7 separate regions of the Homo sapiens genome follow, and regions 1, 2, 4, 5, 6 and 7 are each linked to region 3. The links are contacts of gene promoters, found by promoter capture Hi-C in blood cells and fetal thymus (Javierre and others, 2016). All regions are on one chromosome and are shown on one strand. Each heading gives the region's core, a stretch centred on a gene start or on the middle of the fragment in contact. The rest is flanking DNA. Distances are from core to core; before and after follow the strand shown. Region 1 overlaps IGSF22 (immunoglobulin superfamily member 22). Region 2 holds the start of IGSF22 (immunoglobulin superfamily member 22). Region 3 holds the start of SERGEF (secretion regulating guanine nucleotide exchange factor). Region 4 holds the start of PIK3C2A (phosphatidylinositol-4-phosphate 3-kinase catalytic subunit type 2 alpha). Region 5 overlaps PTPN5 (protein tyrosine phosphatase non-receptor type 5). Region 6 holds the start of SPTY2D1 (SPT2 chromatin protein domain containing 1). Region 7 holds the start of UEVLD (UEV and lactate/malate dehyrogenase domains).

Region 1 (3,501 bases), core at 1-2,500, 700 kb after region 3:
TTACTGTTCAGTAAAAATGAATCCATTCCTTCCTTGGGGGTTTAGAGCTTTATTTTAAAGCTTCCAGCTCTCTTTAAGCAGTCACCCCAATTTTTAATGGATTCATCTCCATTTGTCCCTCCTGCCCCTCCACCCATTTCTACTCTCTCTGCCGACCATACTCTGTATGATAAAGTCTTGCTCTGTGGTGTCAAAGAAATCTTCATGGCCCTAAGGCATGACTTTCCTGTGGTAGGAACTCAAGCGGCACTGGGGAGCTGTGCTTTGGAGAGTGTACAGGGATGGGTCTTGGAGGCCTCTGCCTTCTCTCCATACCTGCCACGCGCACATGGATGTCATAGCGTGCTTCTCCAAACTCATTCTGAAGCAAGATTCGGTACACCCCTGAGTCAGAGCGCTTGGTGCTATTAATGAGGAACTGGGAGTGGTTTTTGCTCTTGGTAATTGTCTCTCGGCCCTTGGTGGGAACGCCATCTTTCTGCCAGATCACGTCAGGTGGTGGTGAGCCCTGAGTAGTGACAGGAGATGGCACAACTGGTCACACAGATGATATTTGGGGGCAGGCCTTCCTCCATTGTCGAGGAGTTTCCTGCCAGGCTGTCGCACTAGGGGTCTGGTGAGGGGCAGAGTCAGAGTCAGAGTCAGAGACTGTGATGGCTACAATAGCCATCTTGGTTATGTGGACAGTGTATGGAGGTCAGGGTCAGGGACAACTCACAGAGAAGGCTGCATGGATGCAGAGGGCTGTCCCAGCGCGAACCACCATGTGACTCTTCAGCCGGGCACTGAGGTCAAACTTGGGTGCAGCTGAGATGGAGGAGACAGAGGTGGAGGCATGGATCTGTCTTTCAAGAAGACTCTGCTTTAAGCCTCCTCATCAAAGCCTTCCCAACCTCTCCTCCTTTATGCCCCCACTACAGGCCATACAGACATCTAGCTGCCCTGCAACCCTGTGAAGCATTTATTTGTTTTCTCATCTGTCTCCTTCTACTAGTACGCAAGACCCTGGAAGGCAAGTCCTTGTGTCTTGTTTCTATAACCCTAACACCTCCTTTTGAAATTGCCATTGCAACAATTATAACAGCGAGAAAATTATGACAGTGAACGAGATCTGATCTAACCAACCCCCATCTTGCCTTTACCCTCCAAACTGCCCTTAATCATTCCTGGTTTCAGACCAAGCTAATGTTGGGAGAGACATTTAGTTTATAGCTTAGATGATAACAGTCTTCCCCCAAACTAAATCACCTTTGCGAAGCTAATGAAAGGCCACCAGGTTAGGAGGATGTGAGGAGCCTGAATTCTGCTAAGGTGTAGACATAAAAGATTACCAGCCATTATTCCAGAGATCACAAGATTTGCAACTCCCCAGCTGCTCCTGCAAATAACATCACTATTGTAGAGCCTAAGATTGGTGGTTGAGATGTCTTTTCAGGTTTTTGCATTTCTGACGACTGATGGCTCCACCTGGACCTGCTCTCCCTCCACCCCACAAGTCCTGAGGCCCCAGTCAGAAGCAGGCTCCCTGGACTTTGAATTTTCGGGGAATTGATTTGGGTAATAACTCTGTCTCCCATACAGCATGGCTGGCCTTGTGTCCATTAAACTCTTTGTTGCAATGCTGTGGTCTCAGTGAACTGGTTTTGCGTGTACAATGCGCAAGAAGAACCCATTGGGTGGTTACACCTTGACACACAGTAGATGCTATTTGGCACACAATGATTGATTTAGTAGGGGTGCCCCTGAAGTTACCCCTAACTTTGTCCAGGCACAACAACTATGGATGACTTTTTCATGATCCTAGCATCATCCAATTTTCCTGTGGGATGAGGCCCCAGAGGAGAAGGTTTGGAGGTACAATGTTGGGCATGAATCCCCAGCCCTCTCTGTGTCCTCACCTGGTGGTGGCATGGCACGGACCCCCTTGTCTAGCTCCACAGGCTCCCCAACCCCAGCCTCATTCACAGCCCGGATTCGGAAGAAGTATTTCTGCCTCTCGATGAGTCCTCCCACTGTGTAGCAGGTGCCTGAGATGGGGATCTTTGTGCACTTGGACCACTCCTTTGTGTCTTCAGCCCTCATCTCAAGGATGTAGCCAGAGGGTGGGTCTCCCTCTGCAGGCTCCCGCCAGGCCAGGGAAATGCTGGAGTTGGAGGAATCAGATACATGCAGGTCCTGGACCAGGCCTGGGGGTTCTGGGGTAGAACAGACATGTAGTCAGCCCCTCCAACTCATCTCCACTCAATGCCTTGCTCACTTCCCACACTCAATACTCCTGAACCCCATCCTTCACTACTTCTAGCTCCAGATCCCTCAGTTAACACCCTTAGTACCTAGCCTTATACACTCAACCTCCAAATTCAAATTCAGTTATCTTACTGTTTTAACACTTTCATCCTTAAACTCAATACCCCTTAAATTCAACATACCCCACATATTCAAAGCTTCTGTATTCAAAACCCCAGCCTTTAACCCAACCATCTCCACCACATCCACTTCCAGGCAGTACCTTCACCTTGCTTCCTAAATGCAACACCCTCCAACCATCTACCTCACACCCTTACTCAACCCTCAGCATGCCTCTCCTACCTCACCTAACTAGAAATACACGAAATTTAAAAAACGTTTTTGCACCCCACCTCCTCACTGTCCCTGACTCTCAATCTTTATTTGCTGGCTTTCTCTTGTGTGTGAATCTTGTCCCTCTATGAGGCTGGCAGTTTCCAGAGTGTAGAGACTGTGATACCTCGTGTCATACTTTCCCGGGGAAGAAATTCTTTCTCTACTTTGAATGGGCTAATTCCATTATGTGTCAGGACCTGGCAGCCGCATACTCACTAACAGGATCCTTGGCCACTACTGAGCTGGATGGCACACTGGGCTGTCCAGGGCCTGCCTTATTTACAGCTATAACTCGGAATTCATATTCTGTGTCCTCCAGGAGACCATCCACAGTGCACTTGGTGCCTGAAATGGGAAGATGAGGGGTCGTGAGGCCAGAGGCATCCATGGGGTGAGAACAAGAGTGAGAGACATAGAAGAGGAGGTCATGGGATGTTGTTAAAACTTCCAGAAGAGTTGGATGAGGGACTGTGTCAGTAGTTAATGGGTCCACTCAGCAAGACCTCCTTTGGTCACTCCTGGGCCTCTGTTCCAAGGACCTCACCCTGGATGGGGTCCTTGTTGACTGGCACCCACAGGTTGCTGCCTTTCTTCCTTCGTTCTACAATGTAGCCGAGCACTGGGGCTCCCCCATCCTGGGTAGGGGCATTCCACGTGATGGTCACGGCTTCTTTAGTCACATCAGTCACTTGAGGCTGGGAGGCAAAACCAGGAGGCTCTGTGGGGGAAAGAGAGAGTGCAAAGGTTAGGAGGGGGAGCATGTAGATATTTGCCCACCTCATGCTGACTTCTGCCTCGCCTGCTTAAATAAACTCAAACCAGTGATTCTTTTTTCTTTTTCCTTTTTTAGAGACAAGGTCTCACTCTGTTGCCCAGGAT
Region 2 (3,535 bases), core at 800-3,299, 710 kb after region 3:
TTGGTTGTCTGGGAGAAGGTCTGCACGTGGGTGGTGGAGCTGGAGAACTCCATGGACACGTGCTCCTGCAGCATCTGCCGGCTGTGAATGGTTGTCATGGTGACAGCAGGCGTGGGCACTCACCTGTGAGACTGGGGAAGAGGATGAGGCCATGAAGGACAAGACAGGGAGTAGGAGGGAGATTCAGAGATGTTATGTGTGTGTTCAGACATAAGAGGAGATGGAAGCACACAGGAGAGGGCCAGGAGAGCAGTCGAGCTCTCTTTTCTTCATTTCCTAGCTTCCTTTTCCTGGTTAGTTACCAGACCCAATAGGCCTGTCCTCTCACTGAGTAACTCCAAACTATTCCAGGGTCTCAGAGGGAGAGGTTATAGGGCTTAGACTTACCCAGCCAACCAAGTAAGGCCTGGAGGGAGTTGAGGATACCTATTGATAGCTACATGGCACTAAGGAGGCAGTGCTGGATGTTTCATCAGGAGGGAATGCAGTCAGACCTAAGAAAGAACTTCCTGACTAAGCCATACTGGAGTGGGCTTTAGAAGGAAGCTGTGTCTCTTATTCCTGGGCCCTGGGGACCCCGGCACTGGTGGAATGCTAAAACAGATGACAAAACATCACTACAATTCTGCTTGTGTTTGCGACATGGTAAAGGCAAAGGTTTAGTTTTTCTTACATTTTTCTTTGAACTGGTAATTCAATCACATAGTTAAAGAATAAAACAATATAAAAATCCATATGGACAGGCTCCCTCCCACTCCTGCGTCTATCTTACAACCTTCCCCATTGCAACAGGTAGCCAGTCTCTAGGCTCCTTCTAGACCTCCATCATGCAAATAGGAAAACTCATGTGTTCTTATCATCTTCCTTTTTTTTTTTTAATTAAAAAAGCACATAAGGTAGCCCATTATACACACTATTCTGACCCTTTCTTTTTTCATTTAATGTGTCTTGGAGATTTTTTCCATACCAGATGATAGCGTTTCCTCATTCCTGTTCAGAGCACCATGTTTTCTCAATGTTTTATTTAACCAGCATTGCGGTTTTTTTTGGGTGATCTCGGCTCATTGCAACCTCCTCCTCTCGAATTCAAGCCATTCTCCTGCCTCAGCCTCCCCAGCAGCTGGGTTTACAGGCACGTGCCACCATGCCCAGCTAATTTTTGTGTTTTCAGTAGAGACAGGGTTTCATCTTGTTGGCCAGGCTGGTCTCAAACTCCTAGCCTCGATTGATCCGCCTGCCTTGGCCTCCCAAAGTGCTGGGATTATAGGTGTGAGCCACTGCATGTGGCCAGCATTGCAGTTTTTTTGTTTTTGTTTTTTTGAGACAGAGTCTTGCTCTGTTGCCCAGGCTGGAGTGCAGTGGCACGATCTTGGCCCACGACAACCTCTGCCTCCCAGGTTCAAGCAATTCTCCTGCCTCAGGCTCCCGAGTAGCTGGGACTACAGGCACCCGCCATCACACCCGGCTAATTTTTTGTATTTTTAGTACAGATGGCGTTTCACTATGTTGGCCAGGCTAGTCTCGAATACCTGACCTCGTGATCCGCCCACCTCAGCCTCCCAAAGTGCTAGGATTACAGGCGTGAGCCACCGCGCCTGGCCCAGCATTGCAGTTTTTAAAGTCCTATTTCGTATATGAGGAAACTGATGTCTGAAAGAAATGACCTGTCCAAGGTCACTCAGACTAGACTCCTAGCTTTTGACTCCAGTCCAGTGGCGTCCCAGAGGGCTCCAAAGCCTTCTTTAACCCAGGTAGTTAGGGGTTAAACTCTATTCCCTCTCTCCACCCCCTAATATATCTCTGCCTGGGCTGCTTCTACCTTTGGGTTCTGAGACTACTCCCCTGTTCCTATTCCTGCCCTCTACCCTATAGTCCCCTCTGGGCTCAGAAGGTGGTCAGCTTTGTCCCCTTCCTGAGGGAGGAGGGGAGCCTTACCTTCAGCACTGACCAGTCCCTCCCAACACTCGAATGCTGTGTCCACGGCTTTGGAGGCTCAGCTAGTGCCTGGACTGTAGGGTGGCCCGTCTCCTTCTTCCTTTGCCCCAACAGTGAGGCTACCAGTGTCATCTGTTCCTTAAATGTCTGGCCCCCTGGGGGCGATTCCTTAGTCAGGCTCTGCAGCTGTCTCAGCTAGATGGCACACTGCTTGGTTGTGGGGGGAGGGGGAGGGCGGTGGAGAAGGGAGGCGGGAAGCAAAGCTGGATCCAGGCTGGGGGAAACACTGAAGGCCAGGCGGGAAGGAGGCTGAGGGTGGCAGTCCAGGGGTACTTTTTTTGTTCCCTTGTGGTACAGGTTTTGGCTCTCACTGCTGCTGGGTAGGACCTCTCTGAGCTGAGGGGCTCAGGGTAGTGTGTGTGCACAGGCACACACTCAGGTACAGGTGCATGCATAGTCCAGCAGGGCTCAGGGAGCAAAGCAACAGGTCTGTATTTTCCAGGGACTGGGACACGGTGAACTGGGGAGGGCCTCTGGGATCTGCTGCGTTGCTACACAAATCCAGGGGTTCCCATTCATGTTGCACTCCTATGTGTGGTTCATACACAGCCTGAGTATCTTTACAAGGCCACCCTGGGGAAGAACAGGGAAATGTTAGGTCTCCTTCCTCTTCCCACTTCAACAGCCCAATCTCCCTAATCTGGGTAGAAGAGTAGGAGGGCCCATCCTCCGGGGGTTGTGGGGAGGTCTCTGCTTGAGGGTGACTGGAGAGTATGGCCACCTCTTCTCAAGGACTTCCATCTGGGCTGCTTCAGCCACCTGTTGTTTTCTTTTCTTTTCTTTTTTTTGAGATGGAGTCTCTGTCACCCAGACTGGATGCAGTGGCACGATCTTGGCTCACTGCAACCTCTGCCTCCCAGGTTCAAGCGATTCTCCTGCCTCAGCCTCCTGAGTATCTGGGATTACAGGCGTGCACCGCTACGCCCGGCTAATTTTTGTATTTTTAGTAGAGATGGGGTTTCACCATGTTGGTCAGGCTGGTCTCGAACTCCTGACCTCATGATCTGCCACCCCTCGGCCTCCCAATGTGCTGGGATTACAGGCGTGAGCCACCGTGTCCAGCCCACCCTGTTGTTTTCTCATCATCTGTAGCACACCCCGCATGCCTGGACCCTGGATCCCACCCAAGGTTCTGGCACCTTGTAAGGACTTGTTGGTCAGCACCCTTGCCCTGGACCCCTCCTTCTGCCCTGGGGTGACCCCCACCTGCCAGCAGTGGCATCATGGCTACTTTTGCTCCATCCCAGGGGGGCAGGGGACAAGAATAGAGCAGGAGTGTCCAGGATGGCTCAGGATCTCAGCCCACATGCAGATTCCCTGGGCCCCTTGGGAGGAGCTACTCTGAGCCCAGGCCTTACAAGGGAAATTACTGGGCTGCAGCTGCTGTTGGGATCTGTGGAGCTAACATGGGATAAGAGTTTGGCCAACAGGGAGGGGCCTGGGTGTGACCTGAATGTCTCCTTACCCTAGCCTTGGCTTCTCTGGCACATCTGTTGGAAATGGTGACCTGCCAGCCACTGTGCCTTCCCTGGAAGCCTTC
Region 3 (3,475 bases), core at 325-2,824:
AACCTACTCACACCTTGATCTTGGCCTTCTAGCCTCTGGAACTGTGAGAAAATAAATTTCTGTTGTTTAAGCCTCTGTTGTGTGGTATTTTGTTATGGTAGCCCTAGCCGACCAACACACCCCCACAGTTTCAGATTATACAGCAGGAAAAACACACTACCAGTCCTCCAAACACAGCAGAAGGGTGTCAACAACCTATTAAACATATTTTACAACCTTTAATATTCGGCTTTGTCTGTACTGAAACAATATTTCTGTTTCCTCTGTCCACACAGACGCCAGTCTCCTGCCTGGAAAAAGCCAGAGACAGCACACATTCAATCCCCAACTCCACCCCCAGCTCCCGGGCCACCTCAAAGACGCCCAGCCAGCCAGACTACCGCAGGTCACGCCATGCTCTCCCTCCTGCCAAATTGCAGCCCCACATTCAACAATTGCCGCCTTGTACTGATCATTACTTCTTTAAAAATTGGACAACTAATACTGATTTTAACAGCAATACAGGTTATAATTTTGCTCTCCCCCAACACAAGAGCTGGAAGTCCTTCACTCGTGTATTTCACTCATGTGTATTTCCCCAACACCAGCACATGGGTAGGCACACAGATGCTCGTTCATTCATTCGTCAACGAGTATTTACTGGGGACCTACAATGTGCCAGACACCAAGAGAGGCACCGTGAACAAGACAGGCACAGCACCCACTCTTACCACACTTACTTTCCAGCCAGAGAGACTGACGTTAATAATAAATTATACACATCATTACAATTGTGATACGTGCTATGAAGAAGCACAAGACGCAGCGACTGCTTGTTCCCGTGCATGCTGGTCGGCCACCTGCCACGCTCCTGTGCATGAACCCTCCTCTCTCCCAGACACACATCAAGATGACCCTGTCTCTCCCAATGCTCCCGTCAAACCAACAGCAGCCCAACTCCCCCAACACATGCAAGAACCGGTCACAGCAGAGTGTCAGCAAATAGGCAGGGTCTGTGCCTTGTGCGCGGCCAAACACCGCAGGCCTCACATCTAAAGGATGCTTTCGCCAGGCTGGGACAGGGTCTCCCTCCTCCAGGCATCAGGAGTGTGGGGGGCACAGGTGGCCCCACGGAGCTCTGGGACCGGGCGATCCTCTCCACCGAGCCCTCCGCGCTGTCTTCCAGGCGCTATTCGGGCTGGAGGGCTCTCGCGGAACCAGACGCTCTGCCCCGAGGCAGGTTCTTCCCGCGGCGCCACAGCCCCTCCGGCCCTGACCCCGCCAGCCGGCAGGCCCCTAAGTCGACCGCGAAGACCCTTCCTTCCCCGCCCGCCCGCTCCTCCTCCGCTCCCCCTCCGCTCCCAGCCCAGGATCCTTCAACCCAGAGCCCGGCTCGGACCTCAGCCGCCCAGCCCCTGAACTGCCCACGCCGCGGCCAGCAGCTCCCACATCTCGGCGCCCCTCAGGGCCTGCACCGGCCCGGGGGCGGAGTCACGTACCCAGGCGAAGAGCGCGGCCGCCGCGGGGGCGGCCTCCGAGGCGCTGGGCTCGCGCTCCATGCGAGGACGCTCCGCCGGCGCTTCCGGGAGGGACGGCACGGGGGCGGCGCCTGCCGGGGGTAGGTGAGCGCCGGAGCCGGACCGGGGACGCGTGATGGGTAGGGCGCGGGGCGGGGTCTGTGGTGGGAAGCGGCCCGCAGGCCGGGAGAGAGGGTGCGGCCGGGCCCTCGGGCCACTGGGGATCAGTGGTGGGCGGGGCCGGACGACAGCCCCGGAGCCGCCTCCCAGTCAGCCCGCCCCGGCGGCGCTCGCAGCGTCTCCGCCCGCAGCCTCCTGTCTCGCTGGGCCTCTCAGCCTCTCGCTCCTACCCCCTCGTACTCTTTATTTTTAGTCATAATTTCATGTTTCATGCAGGTGCACTGCGCGCCACAGTTCACAAAGCTCCTTCGCGTTTTTGTCTCCTTGGAGGCCCACGACAGCCCAGAGGGGCTGACAGGGCAGCGATGGCATCACCATTTGCGGGAACAGGAAATGGAGCCTGAGGGGTAGGGCAGGGTCCTGCCCGGCGTCTCAGGCGCAATTGTCTTGAGCCCGCTTTGGTGTGCGTTCGCAAACATCTGAGGGGGCGCCTTGGGAGGCGAGTGGAGTGGCACGTCGCCGGTGTCGCCCTCTGCACCTGGCACGGAGCGGGAACCCGCGCCTCGCGACGCTGAATGGGGGAGGCTGGTTAGCGTCGACTCCTGCCGGGGCAGCCTCGGCGCTCCGGGCACGGCCCTGAGCTCATTCTATTAATAATACTGGATAATCGTCACCCAACGAACATTTCCATATAAAATGGCTTTTCTCAGACAGCGTCGTGTTGCTGATGGGAGTTAATTAAGTTCAATTTATCTGAAGGAAAATATGGCACCGCGTACCGGGAATACAGAACACATAGGGTCACATTAAAGATGATCATCCACATTCACATTCGGTAGCACTTGGCCCCTCTGCTGACACGGGCCTCCAGCACTCACTGCCCTTCACCCCTGGGCTTCTGGGAAGTGTCTCCAATGAGCTCTTACACTGTCCTTTCCTGTTCTTTCACTCCATCCACTTTTAGGAGTTTCTGCCTGTAAGACCACTTGAGGGCAGCCCCTCACCTTTATCTCTCCAACCTGTGGCATCTGGAGAACGTCGATGACCATACCAAGAAAAAAGCAAACTTTGGAGAGATAAAACAGCTCTTCATTCTCTAGGGATCTGAATGTGCAGGAGCTATACCATGCTTACTGACTGTCTTATGAGTGGGCTTTTTTGTGCTGACCATTTCTTTGAAGCATGTGTAACAGGATGTAAAAATGGGATCCTTCACCGCTCAGTTTTGGCTGAGCAACAAGTGCCAGTTACTCCTATATCATAAAGTAAGGTTCAAGACCACCAAAGCAGGTCTTGCAAAGCAACTGTCTAGAAACCAGTGTATGACTTTCAGTCTACGAAAAAGGTTGAGAGGCCAGAGAGAATTCTAGTAGGATATGTGGCCACAATTATCAATGTGGTGTGGGTCTCAACCCATCTCAGGTCTAAGGAAAGTTACTTTACCTGGGTCCCTGAGAGAGCTTGGTATGCATCCCTCTAGATTTAGGACCCAGACAGGCTTCTGTCCAATCCGTTCTGAGAAATACAAGGGCTTGTGGCTGGATATCTGCTCTAATAGCTGAGCAAAGACAAACTGATGCTTTGGGGAGGTCTTTCACACCCACAGTTTTTCAAAATAAAAACTGTCCATTTCCCATGTGAGTATTTCCCATACCTGAGCAAACTGGCTGGGGGATGGTCTTAGACCTTGTCCAAGAGAATTTCTGGAAGGGTGAAGTGACACCCACAGGACAGTCGATCACTAGATTCCTTGAGGGTGAGGGAAATGAATTTAACAGCCCAGAGAGATACATTTACCTACATCAAGAAATCCCAAGAAATAAGAAGGTGGGAAGGTCTTCCAAAATGCCCACAAGAAA
Region 4 (3,318 bases), core at 458-2,957, 810 kb before region 3:
GAAACTCCATATGTGCTTTCTACCTACGTAAAATCACTTTTGAACTAAATCTGAGTTAACAAATAAAATCTCTCTATTCCCAGTTACATTGTTTTTCAGTATGTAACCACTGTCTTGATACTAAACAAATATCTTATATAAAAATAAAATCTGTATACTTCAACTAGGGTCCTTTCGTCTAATTTGCTGCTGTGAATAAGAGCACCATCCTGTCCAGATAAGGTTAGATCAAATTTAAAAAAAAAAAAAGCACCATTCTGCTGGGCATGGTAGACCAGCCTGGGCGACACAGTGAGACCCCATGTCAATTAAAAAAAAAAAAAAGAGCACCAACCCCAACTATGGCAGAGCTGCTAAAGGAGTCTCTTGTGGAGACTTGAACCACAAGCCAAGGAGGCAAAGGTACAAAGTCTCTCCTGGAATTAGTTCCTGGACTTCTGTGCAGCCTTCCCTCTTTCTACTATGTCTTCACCGTTCCCCTACAAACAGCTTTCTTCTTCTTGCATCTCTTATATGCTGTGGCCTTTGATGCTACAATAGATTTAAAAATTTTCCCAACAGAGCTTTTCTGCCTGAAACCCACCAGGAAAGATTTCAGGACATTCTTTAATAACTAATCTTGTTCAAAGAGGCAGGCCTCCTTCGTTTCACTTAATTCAAACCCCCACTGTTCAAAATAAGAATATAATTATAACCTCAATTTCTATCGGGCCAGTATAGGAAAAGAACTACAACAGGCTCTCTCTTCCACGTTATGTCCAGACTTTTTTCCTTAGTTTCTCCTTCCTCATTTCCCTCCTCAATCCCTCCTCCCCCAAAAAATAATTCCACAGCTAGAGAATGTCGTTTTTAAAGCCAGAAATTCAGTGAGGAAAATAAGTATGTGCCTTTTTCTTCAATTATTTATGATTCCTCCGTCACTCAGGAAGAGTTAAGCTAGTATTTTTTAATCTGACCGCTCTCTCAGAAGGATGATGCGCTAAATACACACTGAAAGAATAGTGTTCCCAAAGCAAGTGGATTCGCGGCTAAAGGCAACGCGGTGGGAGTGGGGGGTCCGGGAAGAAGAAAAAGTATCCTTGGCCCCCAGAGCCAGAGATGGGACAGGAGGTGAAAGAAGGGGCCGTCACTGAGAAGTACAACACACACACTCGCCAGAACTAACAATCTGCCAAGAAAATAGGACCGGCCACTGCGGCTCCAGCCCGGTCCCGCGGGACAAGGCGGGGGAGGGGGGCCGGCGGCCGGGGGGCCTGCCCTCCTTCTGTGGGACAAAACTAACTCCCTGGCGCACCTCCGCTCCCGAGAAGAGGGGCCTGGTGGGGACGCGGGCTCCTCGCACCTCCAGCGCAGCACTTGCTCACGGCCTGGGTGGAAGCAAGGCCCGGAGGGAGGGGGGAGTCGGGCTGGGCAACGCCAAGAGCACGGGATGGAGGGTCAGACGCGGGCACCCAAGGCACTGGGGGCCGCGACAAGAGACCCTTCCAGCCCGGGAACCCCGGGGCCCCTCTCCACCCTTGCAGAGCAGGACCCCGAATATCGTCCCCAGCCGCACCGACCGCTCCTCACCTCAAGCTGCCTGAGCCTCCGCCTCTACCACAACCTGAGCCGCCGAAGCCGCCACAGTCCGAGCCATTTTTCCCCTCAGCTGGCTCAGCCGCCGCCGAAAGCTTCGGCCGACTCCACAGCCAGCCAAGCGCAGCACGTCACTTCCGGACAGGGAAGCACCGCCTTCCCCGCCCGGACTTGTTGCGAATTGGCTGGCGCGGACGGCCTACCTGAGCTGGCGGGCGGGGCTTGGACGCTGCCGGGGTGGCGTGAGCAAGGGAGCTGGGGCGCTGGGGCGCACGGGCCCGGGGGACCAGGGTCTGGCTCTCTCCCGAGGAATGCTGAGCAGGCTCTGGACGCCTCTCCGTGCACACCCCAGACCTGGGGAGGGGAGCTCTCCGGACACCCCAGCTGGCCGCCCCTCGGGCCCTGAGTCCGAAGACCCGCTAAACAGGGCCCGGGCACTGAAGTACCCTATTGTTCTCATCCCCTCTCCCGGGACCCCGCACCCTCCTCCATCTAGGCTGAGGTTCCCAGATTTGTGTCTTGGCCCCTGGCGGCGCCGAGATTACTTTGTGATTGGAAGACTGAAAGGAACAGGCAAGACTTAAACTCGTCCACTCCAACCAGTATTTACCGAGGCCTCACGGTGGGTCAGGTGGTATACGGTGGGTAATTAGTAGCCTATCACGTGGTTTCTGTAAAATGCTTGATAGCACGTAAAACGCTTTCAGGTCGGCGTCTCGTTTCATCCTCACAACAGCCAGGTAAGGAAGATAACCCCCTGATAATAACTCACAGCCAGACGGCTCTTTCTACATTACAAAGTATTTTCACATGCAACCTCCATAATAATATATTCTTATTGAGAATTTAATGAGATTATGCTTGTAAAGCGTTTGGTCCTCACGTGTTAGATCTAAAAATTACGTAACCATGGGAAGATATAGGAAAATTATCCCCATTTACAGATGGGGCTTCTGGGGCACAAAGATGTTAAGGGGAGAGGAACGATTCCATAGCGTTTTACAACAAGATTGTCTTTTAAGCAGTAGGAGAAGGGGGTCCACACCATCCAGACGTTCACAATCTGATGTGGCAGACTGATTTAGGCTGCATTTCTCAGCCTAAACTAAAAATTATCAGCCTATATGATATACGCATAATTAGAAGGCTCTAAGAGAAGTTGAACTTTCAGCAAATAACTGGAAAGAAAGAAATTGGCCTGATTTGGCAGGGACGGGGGTTGGCGAAAGGGGGCTAGGGCAATGGGGAATGTGGAGTGGATGAATCCCTCATAGCGCTGTAATAAACATGCCTGCACCTCCGCAGGGATGGTAAAATTGGATGGAGTTTCTATTCTATGGGGAATTCTAGAAACAAATGTGATTATTTCTTACGGCTGTAGCTACTGGCTGTTGTACACCCCCCCCCCTTCCAACTCCTATCTTTCCCCCAACCCCGCCCCTCCTCTATGCACACACACTTCCAGGCAGGCTACACACTCTAGAAGAATGTCCCTTAGAAATCAACTTAGTTCCGCAGCATTGTTCTGCTTTATCTTCTGATCAAAGGAGGAATTTCTAAAATTGGCAGCAGCTCTTTCACAAGATTAAAAAGGGTGGGGAAAGTGATTTATCTCAGGGTAGCTTCCTAGCTTCTGCTCCAGATCTGAGTGTGCCTTCAGGAAAGAAGGAAGAGGCCTTGGGAGAACACTGAGTCTTCAGGAAAGAGTAACTATTTGTCTGTCTTTTTTTTTTCTTTTGTTTT
Region 5 (3,093 bases), core at 61-2,560, 760 kb after region 3:
CCCCCACCACTGCTTCCCTTATAACCAGAGACCACCAGGGATGAAGGGACTTGGAAATCACCCAGCCTGCCCCCACTTCACTGATGGAGGATGTCCCGGAGTGAAAGTAGCTTCCCAAAGCCATCGTCGCATTCAACAGGCGTGTGCTGAGCACCTCCTGTGAGCAAGGCCTGGAGCTGCCCTAGGAATACAGTGATGAATAATCCAGGCCCCTCCTTGCAGGCTCCCAGTCTTCTCAGGGAGACAGACATGCAGACACGACTGTACCCTGATGCCTGCTTTAATTGATGTATGCATGTGACCATCCTGGGGAAGGCTCTGCTCATTTGTGGGAGGGGCAAGGGGAAGAGGAAGTCTTCTCCAAGGGGGAGACAGGAGCTGGTTTTTTTTTAAATTAATTAATTAATTAATTTTTGAGACGGAGTCTCACTCTGTTGCCCAGGCTGGAGTGCAGAGGCATTATCTCAGCTCACTGCAACCTCTACCTCCCCGGTTCAAGTGATTCTCCTGCCTCAGCCTCCCAGTAGCTGGGATTACAGGTGCCTGCCACTATGCCCAGCTAATTTTTGTATTTTTAGTAGATACGAGGTTTCACCGTATTAGTCAGGCTGGTCTCAAACTCCTGACTTCAGGTGATCCTGCTTGCCTCAGCCTCCCAAAGTACTGGGATTACAGGCGTGAGCCACCGCGCCCGGCCAGGGACTGGTTTTTAAAATATGTTTTTAGGTGAATGGGGGGTTGGGAAAAGGATTTCTTGGGTAGAGCAAATAGAAAGAGCAAGGCATGGAGGCCCAAGATGTGTGGAACATCTGGTGCCATCAGAAGTAGGCTGGTCAGTGGGATGGAGCAGCAGATGGGGGCTAGGCCTCAGCAGAGGCACGTGGGCAAGAAGCAGCCTAGAAGACAGGAATCCTGCCTCCTGGGGTGGCGGGGGAAGCCCTCTTCCACTTGATCATGTGGCTTCCCTGTGGCTTCCCTGCACTGAGAGTGATGCTGGCTCTCTCACACCTGGTCTGGCTGGGTAGGTCTGTAACACGAAGTGGGGGAGCAGCAGCTTACGTTTAAGGAATGGACTTTAGACCCAGCTGGTAGCGTCCGATCTGGTCTGAAACTACTCTTTTTACTGTGCTAAAATTCCCATAGCATAAAATTCAACATTTTGACCATTTTAAAGGGTACAATTCAGTGGCATTTAATACATTCATAATGTTGTGCAACCATCATAATGATCTGCTTCCAGAATATTTTTGTCACCCCAAAAGGAAATCCTGTACTCATTAAGGAGTCACTCCCTGTCCTCCTCCCCACAGCCCCTGGCAACGGCTTATTTGCTTTCTGTCTCTATGGGTTTGCCTATTCTGGATATTTCATATAAATGGAATCATAAAATATGTAGCCTTTTGTGCTTTTGTGTTTGGCTTCTTGCACTTAGCAAGTCCGTAGCATACATCAGTACTTCATTCCTTTTCATGGATTCCTTTTCAAGGCTGAATAATATTCTACTGTAGGACAGACGATGTTTTATTTATCTATTCATCAGTTGAACATTTGGCTTGTTTCTACCTTTTGGCTATTTGTGAGTAGTGCTCCTGTGAACCAAACTGCTCTGTTTCCACTCTCCTCCCATCACGCTTGTGGTTTTGGGCAATCCTTTCTGCGCTCTGGGTCTGAGGCCTCACTTATGAAAATATGGTGGTCAGACTCCAAGCCTGTTGTAACTTGAAGGTCATCACCTTCCTCTGCTCGTTCGTATGTGTGAAGGTAATGCGTTGTGCAGCTACGCCACCAGTGCTGGGTGCTGGAGATCCAGCCTAGACCACCCACCCCATTTTCTAGAAGTTCACGGCCAGTGCAGAAGATACAGAACAGCTGCTGCCGTGGGCTGGGTGAAGTGTTCTAACAAAGGCACCGCCCCTCTGCCTGGGGGGTAGAGTGGGGGATGGGGGGTGCTATTAGGAGACATCCTGGAGTCTCCTAACATGAAGTCCCAGCTTTGCCCAGGACTTATGCAGAGAAAGAGCTGGCTGGTTTGCTGAGCCAATCAGGGAGCCTGAGCCTGCTTCCAAGGTCGGTGAGGAGCAAGGGGGAACTGGGATGCTGAAGCCAGGATTCCTGGGTGTGAGGCTGAGCCAAGCCCAGGCAGACATGCCCTCTATCCTGGGCTTTGTGCTCCTGGTACCCCGTAAATACCCCTCACTGTCAACGTGGAGCTCCTACCACCCTCTTAAAGCTCCAACCCCACCTGACATCTCTATTCGCTGAATCAAACCTGTCCATTCCTCCCTTCGAGCCTTGTTTGTGCTGTTCCCTCAGCCTGGAAGATCCTTTTCCCCTTTTGTCAAATCTTACTCATTCTCCAAGGTGCGACTCAGGCGGTGCGTCTTCCACGGAGCACTCCCTGATCTCTCAGGAAGAACTGCGTCCTCCCACTTCTGGGCTCCCCCACACACCTGGTTCATATGTCCCTTTGTCTCTTACTTTGTTCTGCTGCTATAGTTAGCTGTGTATGCACCTGCCTCTCCCACCAACTTCCGACTCTGGAGCATCCTCACCCCCTCAACCACCTCTGCATCCCAGGTGTTTAGCACAGGGCCTGAGCCTGTTGATGTACACCTTAAAGGCCAAATGCAGGGTAGTGGCAGGGTCTCAGGGTTGGTAGCTTTAGGGGCTCTAGGAAGGCAGACTCCAGCTAGGAGCATCCCAATTAAAGAAGATGGCCAAACCATAGCCAGGAAGAGGCCCATAATGCCATCCAGATTTTCATCAGCACGTTCAGCAGGCAGGGGCAGAGGGCATGCTGGTTTCATGGAAAAGGAATGATCAGGCTGAACACCTCATGAGAATGGGTCACGTGTCCCAGAGCATCCAGATGGAGAAGGCTTGGCCTCCTCAGTGGGCGGGTTGCAGGGGGACGGCGTAAACGCTCACTCACCTGGCTCCCTCATAATTCATTCCCAAGGTGTCTGGATGGGGAAGGGTGCCATCTTCCAGGGCAGGAAGCTTTCTCAGCAAAAAGCAAGCTGGTGATATAAATGAAGGAGAGAGGGCAGCTTCAGATCATCCAGCTGGGAAAACGGGGCAAAGAGAGATTAA
Region 6 (3,199 bases), core at 274-2,773, 620 kb after region 3:
TGATTCTTCCACAGAACAGTACTGGGCATCAAAGCTAGTACTATCTTTGACCTTTACTGAAATTCAATAAGATCTAGAATGAAATACAGACCAAATTATGCAAAGATGAATGGTTACTAGACCCAATATTGATTCATCTGGAAAATTTACAGATGCTTCTAGAAAGTAAATCTGTTGATCTGGGTTTCAAAGGTTTGAGTCTATACCTTCAACATGCAAAGCTTATGACTCACGGCTTAGAGGAATGGTTATTCAGAGTTCTTGGGATAAGGGATGGCTGTGTGTGTGTATATATACATATATTTATAAACATAAATATAGACCTTTTTCAGATCAATATTTTCAAAGGGATAAAAGAATGAACTAGCCTCAGAAGACAAAAAAAAGCTGCAGAAGAGAAAAAAACGAATATTGCAATATACGAATATCTAGGAAATGCAGAGCACTTCGTCGGAGCTCAATAAATTCTAGCTGAATTGACTTTGAGAGCCGTTTTAGTTCTATACCTCACTGCTCAAACCGCAGGCATCACCATGCAACTTATCGGTTTACAGCTGTGCTGTGGGTACCATCTGAAAATCTGGAAATGATTAGCTTATGCAAAACAGCCATAACCCCCAGAAACCAGGCGCTCTCCACCACTTTACCATTTAAGTCTTACACCGCTCTTGCGACTGTAAGCGAACTGACAAACATCTACTGACCAAATGGGACCTAGATTTTAAACAAAGACTGAAATCTGGAAGGCTACAAGTAAACAGAAGCTGAAACTAGCTCACCTATTCTGTTGGCCAAGGATTTCGTGGAATCTGCTAAACTTCTCTTCCCAAAAGATGATACCTATCCCCTGGGAGGTGATAATTTAATCACCTCGGTGGCTGAGTGGGTGGGGCCGAGTCAGAGAATTCTTTCAAGAAATCGCTAAACGTTTGACTTGAAGATCGATGAGAAGCCAGCCAAAAAGCTATCAAGCCAAGGACCCCAAACCCCCTAACTCCCTTACATACATATTTCCTTCCCAATCTCTAGGCTGAAGTTTATGTGGAAGCCAAAAACTACCAGCGCTAGAATCCACAGCGTGCCAGGCACAGCTCACTCACGGCTTTCACGCAATTCTAGCTACAACACCCAAACCGCAAAGTCCCTGTTGCAGGGGTAAATAAGCCGGCGAAACCCATTCACAGGAAGGCTCCCGCGTCTCGTCCCAAGCTCTTTTCTCCCGAGTTCCCAAGAGTATAAACCCAAGAAAAGGAAATAAGGCGTCCGGGTCTTTCCTCTCCCGGAGCCGATAGGCGGCTGCCCAGAAGTTCCATGGGCCACACACATTCCGAACTTGGAAGACTAGGGTCCCCTACATTGATGCCCCAGCTGCTACTTACCGGCACATTGTTGACACCTTGTCCCTTGGAAGCTATCATGAGAATTTCTCTGAAGTCCATGTTGGGCCGAGGCGGGAGAGACTGGGCCAGGCACTCGGAAAGGACTGACAGCGCACCTAACCGAGGCGCCCAGCTACAGCCAACTGCACTGCCTCGGGAGCCCCACTCCCACCCCGCCTCTGCGGGACCACTTCCGGCGCCTTCCTATGCCGTCTGCCCGCCCCCTTCCCTCCACGGCCTATATCCTTTCAGGGCCGCCACAGCGCTCGCGAGTCCCTGCGTAACTTCCGCTTTTAGGCCGAGACACGTACAAACGTGATACGTGGCTGCTGGCGTCGACCCGAGGGGCAGGGACTAGGCATTTTAGCAACCAAGGGGGTGTGGCTAAGCGAGAGAGCGGCTTCCCTGGTGGCCCGGGCGCGCGGTCTTGTCATCTTGTTGCTCCTTGTGAGCGCTGGGTAGAGAAAGTGAGGGGGTAGAGGGTTTACTTGCCAGGCCTGGGTTCTCTGGGTGTCACGGGTAGGCGCTTAGATCCAAAACGGCGGCGCCACAACAGCTGAACAGACGGATCTCGAGCCGGGGTTTGGGCTACTTGTGTCTAGGCGCTCGCGAAGCTGCGCAGGCGCACACAGCAGCGCCGTGGTCCTGTCTTGGATGCCCATTACTCATCAAATTCGGCCACATGCCGTGCGCTTACCTCCTACTCAGATGCACGCGTGCCGGGGATGGGGGCACGCGCTTACTTCTTTTGCCCCGTTTAGAAAGTAAGTTTTATGTGGAGCAGCCAACCTGTGTTTTTGCTCAGGCAATGGATTAAGGAATTTCACATACAGACCCAGCCTTGACATAACTTTGGTGTACTGATGAACATATGCTTCATATTCATATTCATTGGGATCCTAGTCCTGACTTCTTTTGGAGAGTTATCTTGGATCTGTAAGGTCATTTCGACTTAGCAAAAACACTGAAAATAATTAGGCAAACCTGGGTCTGCAAGTGGGAACCCGCCAGGGGATTGATAGCAAACAGGTACTCGGGATCTTTTCGGTGGGATGGAAATGCCTCCAAACTGGATTGTGGGGATGGTTGCACTATACATGTACTAAAAATCGTACACTTAAGACGGGTGAGAATGATACAGTATGTAAATATGTCAAGCTGTTAAAACATGCTAGACAGGCCGAGCGCGGTGGCTCACGCCTGTAATCCCAGCACTTTGGGAGGCCGAGGCGGGCGGATCACGAGGTCAGGAGATCGAGACCATCCCGGCTAAAACGGTGAAACCCCGTCTCTACTAAAAATACAAAAAATTAGCCGGGCGTAGTGGCGGGCGCCTGTAGTCCCAGCTACTTGGGAGGCTGAGGCAGGAGAATGGCGTGAACCCGGGAGGCGGAGCTTGCAGTGAGCCGAGATCCCGCCACTGCACTCCAGCCTGGGCGACAGAGCGAGACTCCGTCTCAAAAAAAAAAAACAAAAAACATGCTAGACAAAGCTGCTGGCTCTTACTCTTTGATGGTTTAATGCTGCGAACGTAATTCAAAATCAAAGCTGTTGGAACTTTAAGTTATTTTGCGCCTTAAAAGAATGTTATTATGGAACCTGAGCTACATAACAGGCAGCTGCGTTTGTTCCTCTGATTATAGATTAGCCTTTCTTTCCTACATCGTTTTGTGAAAACACAGGGAGAAGACAGCCATGTACAAACCAAGGAGAGAGACCTCAAGGTAACCACACCTTGATCATGGAATTCTAGCCACCAGAATTGTTAAGACAATAAATGTCTGTTGTTTAGGCCACCTAGTCTGTGGTACTTTGTTATT
Region 7 (3,350 bases), core at 796-3,295, 580 kb after region 3:
AATTATTTCTAGATATTAAACAATATTATTTGCAGACTGCAGTGAATGGTCAGGAAACTTCATATATTTGCTGCACTGACTTGTTTCTGATTGGTTTCCTTAATTTATACAGCCAACAAATACTTATTAATAATAAGCTACCCCAGCCTGGCCAATATGACGAAACCTCGTCGCTACTAAAAATACAAAAAAAATTAGCCGGGCTTGGTGGTGGGCGCCTGTAGTCCCAGCTACTCAGGATGCTAAGGCAGGAGAATCGCTTGAACCCAGGAGGCGGAGATGGCAGTGAGCAGAGATCGCGCCACTGCACTTCAACCTGGGTGACAGAGCGAGACTCCGTCTCAAAACAAACAGTAATAATAATAATAAGCTACCTATGTGCCAGACTCTATGCTATGCACTGATGGGGAAAAAAAAATCCTCTACTATTCTACTCTCACCCTTGAAAAAACCATTGTCTCTCTTCTTTTCCTTCATTCCAGTGCCACCAAAAATATGCTCTATGTTTGAATCTTAACTTGAACAATTCTTCCCATCGGACAATCCATCATCCTCTGCACATTAAAACTTGAATGGTTCTTTTAATTTCACATGCTCTGAAGAGGAGACAGAAAGGGTAGCATTATGATACTTCTCTTCCTACAAGATCTGCACCTGTCGCAGTAGATAAATTCATTCAAGTCACTTACATAAACAATTTCAATCTTAGGACTTCAAAACCTCCCACGGGTATGTAAACTGCCCCAACAAAGAAAGAGGCAAGTATAACAAAAATGGCATAAACTATGGTTTCTGCATTAGGAAGTCTTAAGAAGCATTAAGAATTATTTAAGGCCGGGTGCGGTGGTTCATACCTGTAATTCCACCACTTTGGGAGGCTCAGGCGAGTGGATCACTTGAGGTCAAGAGTTCGAGACCAGACTGGCCAACATGGTGAAAACCCATCTCTACTAAAATACAAAAATTAGCCAGGCATGGTGGCACGCGCCTGTAGTCCCAGCTACTTGGGAGGCTGAGGCACGAGAATCGGCTTGAACCCGGGAGGTGGAGGTTGCAGTGAGCCTAGATCGCACCACTGCACTCCAGCCTGGGGGACAGAGCAAGACTCTGTCAAAAAAAAAAACACAAAAAACAAAAAACCACCTTAACTAGGAAACTGGTGAAAACTAGTCTTCTTAACTAGAAAATTGGCGGGGATTCCCTCAGATTGTACACCGGAAACTCAGGCTAGTCAGGTCTCAGAAATATAGGTCAGATTTCTAGGTCGGCCCGCCTACTCCCCAGCCTTCCAACATTAAGATCTCTCCAGGGCCTTCAAGCTCTGTCTTCATCTCTAAATCTACTCAGGTCTTTCATTCACTGCACAGTTACTTAGTACCTATGGTGTTGTCAAACATAGTGGCTAGAGGAAGGGAATACAAAAGCACAATGTCTGCAGTCAAAGGGGCTCACAGCAAGATTACGGTTTGTAAATACATAATTACTCCACAATGTGATAATCGATATCTTTCAAAACAGAAGGGTTGATTCAATCTTACAGGGAGTGACTGAGTTGGGTCTTACAAAGGATGAGCTTTGCAATTCAAGAAAAAAGAAAAAAAAGGCAGACCATTTCAGCAGAGAGAAAGAGAGAAAGGCGTGGTTAGGCGTGTGCTGGGAGCTGTTTGAGGTCAGTGAAGCTGGGGGTATGAGGAGGGCTCGCACCAGGTGGAGGTTGGGAAACCTCAGAGTTGCGGGAGAAATCAGAATCCAGGTCCCCTCAGCCTCCCTGGGGCCGCGCCCCATAGCCGGTTTCAGACCAGCCGCCCCGGCTCCAAGCCCCACTACAAGCCGGGAAACGCAAAACGGAGGCAACCTGGCCAAAGGCAGAGGCACCCCCCGCAAGACCCTGAGGACCCAAACTGGCCCAGCGGACTGCCCGCACCTTGCCAAGCAGCCGTCTCAGGCCCTCGCAGTCGAACTCCATCTCCAGGCCGGTCCCGAGCTAGGTCCCAGGACTCCAGCCCCCGGACCTTCTTCCGGACTTGCTGCAGGACGGAAGCCGCTGAGGACCAAACTTCCCGGCGGTCCAAGGCCCCGCCCCTTCCCAGACTGGAAATTCCACCCGCATTCAACGCCCCGGGCTCAGCCGCGGCTGCGCCCGGAATCCGGGGCCTCTCCTTCGTGACCCCGGAGTGGGCAAGTGACGAGGGCACGGCCAGAAACGCATTGGCGTCAAGGAAACCACGACCCATCTTCCTGGAAGGAAACTTGGGGACACTTATGAAGAGAAGACTAGGAAGGACCGGAGTAGAAGCACTAAAGGAGGTAGAGGCAACACGCGGTGTTCTTGAAGAGTTTCCAGACAGATGTATTAAATTCCACAGTGTATCAGGAAAGAGCAAGACCGAAAATTGCAGTTGAATTTAGGAAGGAGGCGGTAATGGAACTTCAGAAGCAAAATTTCAGGGAGTAGAAAGGAAAAACAAAGTCAGGAGGAGCCTTGCCGGAGAAGCGGAGATAGGACAGCCCCAGCATGAGGGTGGCTTAGCACGGGGAGAGTGGTTGCTTTTTTTATTTTTTTTAGGGGTGCCATAACAATGTTGGTGGTCAAAGAGAGGAGAAATCCAGGTGAACAAATAGTTGGAAAACAAGAGAGGAGGGAGATGGGTGGATAAGGTCATCTGGAGAAGGTGGGTGAAGAAGAGATGCAGGATACAGTAATTTTCTGGCGTTGTTTGATCTCCTTGGCCCATGGCTGACTTACCTGCCCTGTATCCCTGGCCTGAGCCACTGAAGCGAAAAGTCCCAGGAGCTGGATATTGTAATTGTCAAGAGGTTGGACATATAGGAGAGAGATTGTATTTATAGGAAGATCTGAAGGGAGTGCTGCCCTGACTCAGGAGAAGAAGCTGAAAAGCTGGAAGGAACATTCATTCAGAAAGTTTTTGTTGAGCATCTACTACTTGCCAGCTATTTTTCCAGGTCTCAGGATACAGCCGTGAACAAAATACACTCAGATAGCTGATGTCTTAAGGGTGTCATTCCTTTATTAGCAGAGAGAGAGCAAAACAATAAATGTAATAAGTAAATTATTCAGCATGTCAGAAGGTTGATTACGTGTTGTGGAGAATAAATTCTGAAAAGGGTAGGGAGATTGGGGTAGGTCTCACTGAGGGGTGAGGGAGTAAGTGTTACGAATCCGAGTGCAGACAAAGCAGTAGCCTAAGGCATGTGCCCAGGGAGGCTCAACACAGCAAGGAGGCCAGTGTGGCTGGAGTAGAATGAAGTAAGATGGGAGTGGAGACAAGGAGGCTAAGTCAGGGAAATAAGACGGGGGAACAAGTGGTTTAGAGAAGTGAGTCTTCTAG

What was found. Contacts are between HindIII fragments. The CHiCAGO score rates a contact against its expected background, and 5 or more counts as called.
Region 1: a fragment that was not itself captured here is called in contact with the fragment with the promoter of SERGEF in region 3 in 3 of 17 cell types (non-activated CD4 T cells, total B cells and naive B cells); the score reaches 6.4 in non-activated CD4 T cells.
Region 2: a contact is called between the fragment with the promoter of IGSF22 here and the fragment with the promoter of SERGEF in region 3, in 14 of 17 cell types (total B cells, naive B cells, non-activated CD4 T cells and 11 more). The highest score is 21.8, in total B cells.
Region 4: a contact is called between the fragment with the promoter of PIK3C2A here and the fragment with the promoter of SERGEF in region 3, in 12 of 17 cell types (total B cells, M0 macrophages, naive CD4 T cells and 9 more). The highest score is 19.0, in total B cells.
Region 5: a contact is called between a fragment that was not itself captured here and the fragment with the promoter of SERGEF in region 3, in 1 of 17 cell types (non-activated CD4 T cells). The highest score is 5.3, in non-activated CD4 T cells.
Region 6: the fragment with the promoter of SPTY2D1 here is called in contact with the fragment with the promoter of SERGEF in region 3 in 4 of 17 cell types (total B cells, naive B cells, non-activated CD4 T cells and 1 more); the score reaches 7.2 in total B cells.
Region 7: a contact is called between the fragment with the promoter of UEVLD here and the fragment with the promoter of SERGEF in region 3, in 4 of 17 cell types (naive CD8 T cells, M0 macrophages, total B cells and 1 more). The highest score is 8.0, in naive CD8 T cells.

Annotation. Positions count from the first base shown.
Region 1 is chr11:18,707,489-18,710,989 of GRCh38, forward strand. It overlaps IGSF22 (immunoglobulin superfamily member 22), which reads right to left. Exons shown (of 23, transcript NM_173588.4): 16 at 3,167-3,340; 17 at 2,839-2,967; 18 at 1,899-2,195; 19 at 719-807; 20 at 316-508. The region is part of intron 2 of IGSF22-AS1 (IGSF22 antisense RNA 1); the gene reads left to right. Among named protein-coding and RNA genes, the nearest start is that of IGSF22-AS1, 2.8 kb to the left of the region's middle. The HindIII fragment of the contact is 2,384 bases long and covers 59-2,442 here.
Region 2 is chr11:18,724,139-18,727,673 of GRCh38, forward strand. IGSF22 (immunoglobulin superfamily member 22) reads right to left here and starts at 2,050. Exons shown (of 23, transcript NM_173588.4): 1 at 1,936-2,050; 2 at 1-131. The coding sequence starts at 98. All of the region lies in intron 2 of IGSF22-AS1 (IGSF22 antisense RNA 1), which reads left to right. The HindIII fragment of the contact is 7,417 bases long and covers 1-3,535 here.
Region 3 is chr11:18,011,473-18,014,947 of GRCh38, forward strand. It overlaps SERGEF (secretion regulating guanine nucleotide exchange factor), which reads right to left and starts at 1,575. Exons shown (of 11, transcript NM_012139.4): 1 at 1,479-1,575. The coding sequence starts at 1,538. RefSeq lists enhancers at 1-367, 368-884, 2,243-2,292 and a silencer at 1,243-1,862. The HindIII fragment of the contact is 12,002 bases long and covers 1-3,475 here.
Region 4 is chr11:17,206,279-17,209,596 of GRCh38, forward strand. It overlaps PIK3C2A (phosphatidylinositol-4-phosphate 3-kinase catalytic subunit type 2 alpha), which reads right to left and starts at 1,708. Exons shown (of 33, transcript NM_002645.4): 1 at 1,570-1,708. RefSeq lists enhancers at 975-1,498, 1,499-2,021, 1,527-1,636 and silencers at 1,167-1,426, 1,777-1,856. The HindIII fragment of the contact is 7,601 bases long and covers 1,669-3,318 here.
Region 5 is chr11:18,769,007-18,772,099 of GRCh38, forward strand. It overlaps PTPN5 (protein tyrosine phosphatase non-receptor type 5), which reads right to left. Exons shown (of 15, transcript NM_006906.2): 2 at 2,933-3,065. The coding sequence starts at 2,952. Among named protein-coding and RNA genes, the nearest start is that of PTPN5, 21 kb to the right of the region's middle. RefSeq lists enhancers at 1,203-1,252, 1,504-2,005, 2,006-2,505 and a silencer at 1,622-1,671. The HindIII fragment of the contact is 3,375 bases long and covers 1-2,998 here.
Region 6 is chr11:18,632,819-18,636,017 of GRCh38, forward strand. It overlaps SPTY2D1 (SPT2 chromatin protein domain containing 1), which reads right to left and starts at 1,524. Exons shown (of 6, transcript NM_194285.3): 1 at 1,380-1,524. The coding sequence starts at 1,439. It overlaps LOC105376578 (a long non-coding RNA gene), which reads left to right and starts at 1,531. Exons shown (of 2, transcript XR_931097.3): 1 at 1,531-2,143; 2 at 3,062-3,175. RefSeq lists a silencer at 509-688 and an enhancer at 1,745-2,014. The HindIII fragment of the contact is 3,460 bases long and covers 220-3,199 here.
Region 7 is chr11:18,586,689-18,590,038 of GRCh38, forward strand. It overlaps UEVLD (UEV and lactate/malate dehyrogenase domains), which reads right to left and starts at 2,046. Exons shown (of 12, transcript NM_001040697.4): 1 at 1,925-2,046. The coding sequence starts at 1,966. RefSeq lists enhancers at 1,094-1,203, 1,604-1,753, 1,794-1,853, 1,914-2,208, 2,114-2,163. The HindIII fragment of the contact is 11,919 bases long and covers 1-3,350 here.